2 separate regions of the Homo sapiens genome follow, and region 2 is linked to region 1. The links are contacts of gene promoters, found by promoter capture Hi-C in blood cells and fetal thymus (Javierre and others, 2016). All regions are on one chromosome and are shown on one strand. Each heading gives the region's core, a stretch centred on a gene start or on the middle of the fragment in contact. The rest is flanking DNA. Distances are from core to core; before and after follow the strand shown. Region 1 holds the start of DBP (D-box binding PAR bZIP transcription factor). Region 2 overlaps PLEKHA4 (pleckstrin homology domain containing A4).

The links. The method cuts DNA at HindIII sites, captures the fragments that hold promoters and counts their contacts. A CHiCAGO score of 5 or more calls a contact.
Region 2: a fragment that was not itself captured here is called in contact with the fragment with the promoter of DBP in region 1 in 2 of 17 cell types (megakaryocytes and endothelial precursors); the score reaches 6.9 in megakaryocytes.

What each region holds. Positions count from the first base shown.
Region 1 is chr19:48,636,037-48,638,762 of GRCh38, reverse strand. DBP (D-box binding PAR bZIP transcription factor) reads left to right here and starts at 1,384. Exons shown (of 4, transcript NM_001352.5): 1 at 1,384-1,907. The coding sequence starts at 1,769. CA11 (carbonic anhydrase 11) reads left to right here. Exons shown (of 9, transcript NM_001217.5): 9 at 619-817. The coding sequence ends at 644. It also overlaps the pseudogene SEC1P. RefSeq lists an enhancer at 167-336 and silencers at 947-1,166, 1,337-1,446, 1,677-1,796. The HindIII fragment of the contact is 6,625 bases long and covers 1-2,726 here.
Region 2 is chr19:48,848,596-48,851,321 of GRCh38, reverse strand. All of the region lies in intron 13 of PLEKHA4 (pleckstrin homology domain containing A4), which reads left to right. Among named protein-coding and RNA genes, the nearest start is that of HSD17B14, 13 kb to the right of the region's middle. The HindIII fragment of the contact is 4,147 bases long and covers 1-2,726 here.

The DNA of each region.
Region 1 (2,726 bases), core at 135-2,634:
TGTCTCTTTTTCTCTCTTTCCCTACATGTCTATGTGGTACAGTCCACCTGCCAGCCCTAGGCCATTGCTAGCCCACGATTTGTCTTTCCTCTTCACTGCTTTGTAACTTGGTCTATAACCCTTGACCCCTGCCTTCCTATGGTCCAATTACCTACTGTTCTGTGCTTCCTATTACTGTGAATTTCCAAAATGGTACAATTTGGATCCTCTCTCCCTTTCCAAGTCGTACTACCTTACGCTGTTCCACAATCTGATGCTCCCTTCCCCCTTACTGAGAATCTACAAGGTACAACCCCTTCCCTCCACCTCTGCCTCCCTGTGGTTTAGCCCAGGAATCTCACACACCCCCGGCTTCGCAACATGGTACAGTCCACACCCCCCCCCCCCCATGAAGACCTTCAAGTAGTTCAGCCTACTGCTGAATCTGGACGTCCCGATTCCCCCCTCCTATTGGCTTCTTGTGGTTCAGCCCAGTGCTTCTCGACCTAGTACATTCTGGTTCCCCGCTCGCAGACTTCCGACGGTAGGGCCCAGCGCGGCGCAGCCCACGCCCCCTGCACACCCCCCGCCCCTTCCATCCTATACTGACGCCCCCTGCCGTTGTTCTCTGTCTTACAGTGGATGGTGTCCCCCATGGTCGCTGAGACTCCCCTTCGAGGATTGCACCCGCCCGTCCTAAGCCTCCCCACAAGGCGAGGGGAGTTACCCCTAAAACAAAGCTATTAAAGGGACAGAATACTTCCTGTTTTCTCAGTGGTCTGATTCTAGGCGCGGTGGGGAAACATTTGGGTATTAAAGAACAGACTTCTTCCGGAAACCAATCTTCCTCTTTCTAAACCTCCGCTCTCGGTATTTTGGCTTCCTGCTTCTCAAAACCATCTTTAGGACCGCGGCCCCTTTAAGCGGCGCCCCTTTTCCCCCCATCACCCCCCTCGCCATCAGGCAGCACGAGCAGAGCCATGTGCTTCCCCCTCCCGCCTGCCTCATTGGCCCAAACTGGGTCACGGTCCCGCCCCCCAGTACCGCCTCCCATTGGGCAAATGTAGGTCAGTGTCCCGCCTCCCACCGAAAGGCAAGGCAACTTCACGCGCTGAGCCCCTCACGCGCCCTCCTGGGCCCTGGCGGACCCAGAGGCCCCATTGGCTGTGCGTCTCAAGGTGTCGGAGACGATTGGTCCGTGTTTGCAGCCGGAGGGAGGCACGCGGCTGGGTTGCATGCCCATAGAGGCTGGCGGGGCTGGACGCGCCGGGCGGGGACCCGGAGGAGGGGCGCGCGCTGTGGCGTCGGGTGTTTTGGTTTGGATTTTTTTTTCCGCGAAAGAAGTTTGCTTTGGCCACGCCTCAAGGCGGCCGCCTCCTCCTGCCCCCTCCTCCGCCCCTCCGCGCACACCTCTCGGTGCAGATTGCAAAGCGCCTTCCGTTGCGAGAGCTGCAGATTTTGCAAGAGCCAGGCTCGCCCACCTTGTAGAAGGAGCGCCTTGAGTCCCCTCTCACCCTCGGTTGCAAAGAGCCGACCGCTTGATCTGGACACCCCCTCGCCCAGATTGCATGATCTCCCGGGACCCTCTTGAGTTGCACGTTTCTGCACCGAGGACCTCAAATCCCCGTCGCTCCTAGGATTTGCAGCGTTCTGGATACTGGAGGGTTGCAGGCTACACTCGCCCGCCCCTGGGCAGACACTCGTCCAAACCACTGGAGTGTGCTGGTGACTGGCAGGCCAGCCCTTCGCCTCTCCATGAACCCGTGAGCCTGGGGGCAGGTGCCAGGCGATGGCGCGGCCTGTGAGCGACAGGACCCCGGCCCCTCTGCTGCTGGGCGGCCCGGCCGGGACACCCCCTGGCGGGGGAGCGCTGCTTGGGTTGCGGAGCCTTCTGCAGGGGACCAGCAAGCCCAAAGAGCCGGCCAGCTGTGAGTTCTAACCCCCATCTCACCCACTTCGGACACCCTACCCCCTTAGGGACTCAGGTGCCGTGGGGTGGGGTCCCATAGAAACCTGCGTGCGGGGAGTCCATCTTCCCAACCTTAATCTACTCAATTACTCAGGTGTTTAGGCCCCTAGATCCCTTAGCGCCCAGGACCCAAAAGCGCCGGCTCTGAAGCCCGTCCACCCTAAGGACCCAGGCACCAACGTCCCCAACGTCCTCCCCGCTTAGTTCACAAGAGTGTAGGCCCCAGCCTCCTCTTCCTTTTGGTCCGGGAGTCTGGACCCCTGGGGTCCCAGGGAGGGGGTGTGTCGGGTGCTCACACGGTGGTGACACGGGCTTGGGCGGGGCGTCATGGGGTCACATGGAGTCTAGGGATGAGGGATGTGCCCCAGGAATAGAGCCCCTTCCTGCCCCTTACAGATGGTGGGGGAGGGGAAGGGGGTACAGCGCGCAGGGGATGGGGGTTGGGTAATTACAGTGAAATTACAGAGCTGTCATTTTTTCTCTCACCTGCCCAACCCTCCACCTACCCTGTCCCTGCCCCCCTATTCCTGAACTTCCGTCTCTCTTTCTCTGGTTCGCTGTCTTTCTGTGTGTCTATTCCTTCCCGGCATTCTGTCCCCATCTCTGTGAATCTGTCCACCTGTCTCTGCCACCCCCGTCTCCATTCTTTCTGGGTCTCTCTCCCACTCTGCGTCTCCGTCCCTTTTTCTCCCGTCTCTCCTCTCCGACCCCCCGTCCCCTCTTTCTCTGGATCTCCGCCCTGTGCCTCTCGGACTCGGGGTCTCTTCTCCATCTCTAT
Region 2 (2,726 bases), core at 134-2,633, 210 kb before region 1:
TTAAAAAATGTATTGTGGGTACATAGCAGATGAATATATTTATGAAGTGCATAAGATATTTTGGTACAGGCATGCAATGTATAATAATCCCATCATGGAAAATGGGGTGTCCATCCCCTCAAGCATTTATCTTTTGTGTTACAAACAATCCATTATACTCTTTTATTTTTTATTTTTATTTTTGAGACAGTCTCGCTTTATTGCCCAGGCTGGAGTGCAGTAGCACAATCTTGGCTCACTGCAACCTCCGCCTCCCAGGTTCAAACGATTCTCCTCCCTCAGCCTCCCAAGTACCTGGGATTACAGATGACCACCACCATGCCCGGTTAATTTTTCTATTTTCGGTAGAGAGGGGGGTTTCACCATGTTGGTCAGGCTGGTCTCGAACTCCTGACCTCAGGTGATCCACCCACCTCGGCCTCCCAAAGTTCTGGGATTACCGGTGTGAGCCACTGTGCCTGGCCTACTCTTTTATTTTTATTTTATTTATTTTATTATATTTTTTGAGATAGAGTCTCGTTCTGTTGCCCAGACCGGAGTGCAATGGTGCAATCTCGGTTCACCGCAACATCCGCCTCCCAGGTTCAAGCAATTCTCCTGCCTCAGCCTCCCGAGTAGCTGGGATTACAGGCATGCACCACCATGTCTGGCTAATTTTGTAGTTTTATGAGAGACGGGGTTTCTCCATGTTGGTCCGGCTGGTCTTGAACTCCTGACCTCAGGTGATCCACCCGCCTCAGCTTCCCAAAGTGCTGAGATTACAGGCGTGAGCCACCGCACACAGCCCTTCTATTTTTTATTTTCTTTTTTTGTGTGTGTGAGACATAGTCTTGCTCTGTCGCCAGGCTGGAGTGCAGTGGCACAATCTCGACTCACTGCAACCTCCACCTCCCAGGCTCAAGCAATTCTCCTGCCGCAGCTTCCCCAGTAGCTGAGACTACAGGTGTGTGCCACCATGCCCAGCTAATTTTTGTATTTTTAGTAGAGATGGGGTTTCACCATGTTGGCCAGGATGGTCTAGATCTCTTGACCTCATGATCCACCCGCCTCGGCCTCCCAAAGTGCTGGGATTACAGGCGTGAGTCACGGCGCCTGGCCGCCCTCTTATTTATTTATGAGATGGAGTCTTGCTCTGTTGCCCAGGCTGGAGTGCAGTGGTGTGATCTCGGCTCACTGCAACCTCTGCCTCCCGGGTTCAAGTGATTCTCCTGCCTCAGCCTCTAGCTGGGACTACAGGCGTGTGCCACCACGCCTGGCTAATTTTTGTATTTTTAGTAGAGACGGGGTTTCACCATGTTGATTAGGGTGGTCTTGAACTCCTGACCTTCTGATCCGCCTGCCTCGGCCTCCCAAAGTGCTGGGATTATAGGCATGAGCTACTGCGCCCGGCCAATGCCTTTCGTTTTAATACCTACTTCAGATCCAGAGCTGCTCTCTCCCCTGGTTCTAAATCTCTCCTCTTGTTGAAGCCATGCTCTCACCAGCAAAACTCCAACCCTCAGCCTTTTTTCCATCTTGCAAGTTCATCTCTTGCATCCTGCATCCTGACTTTTGCTGTTAAATTTATCCTCTGGAGTTCCAGTTCTGAACCCATTCCTTTAGTGCAAGCTCTGCTCCTAAAATATAAACCTCATTGCTTAGCCTCAGACCTGCTTTTTCACTCTAAATCTAGCCATCAAGTTCTAAATCATGTATCTTTAAAAACATTGACACGGCCGGGCGTGTTGGCTCACGCCTGTAGTCCCAGCACTTTGGGAGGCCAAGGCAGGTGGATCACTTGAGGTCAGGAGTTGGAGACCAATCTGACGAACATGGTGAAACCCTGTCTCTACTAAAAATAGAAAAATTTGCTGGGTGTGCTGGTGCACGCCTGTAGTCCCAGCTACTCAGGAGGCTGAGGCAGGAGAATCGCTTGAACCCGGGAGGCGGAGGTTGCAGTGAGCCGAGATCGTGACACTGCACTCCAGCCTGGGTGATAGGGAGAGACTCCATCTTAAAAAACAACAACAACAACCCCAAAAAACAAAAAACCATTGATGCCTAGTTTTAAATGCATCTTCTCACTCTAAGCTGCTCCCACTAGATCTACAATCCAGACTTGGCAAGAACAGACCCATGCCAGCTGCAGTGGCTCACACCTGTAATCCCAGCACTTTAGGAGGATGAGGCAGGTGGATCACCTGAGCCCAGGAGTTTGAGGCTAGCCTGGGCAACATGGTGAAACTCTGTCTCTACTAAAAATAAAAGTGAAAAAATTAGCTGGGCCTGGTTGTGCACGCCTGTGGTCCCAGTTACTCAGGAGGCTGAGGTGGAAGGATCGCTTAAGCCCAAGAGTTCGAGGATGCAGTGAGCTATGATCAAGCCATTGCACGCCAGCCTGGGTGACAGAGGGAGGGACTGTCTCCAAAAACAAACAAAAAGAACAGACTCTCATATTCGTATGGTCACCTATTTATAATAGATGTAACACAGTAAAACAACATAGAAAGAAAAGACAGTTTTTTCTTTTTCTTTTTTTTTTTTTTGAGACAGTGTCTCGCTCTGTTGCACAGGCTGGAGTGCAGTGGCACGATCTCAGCTCACTGCAACCTCCACCTCCTGGGTTCAAGCAATTCTCCTGCCTCAGCCTCCCGAGTGGCTGGGATCACAGGCATGCACCACCACCCCCGGCTAATTTTTTTTTGTATTTTTAGTAGACACGAGGGTTCACCATGTTGGCCAGGCTG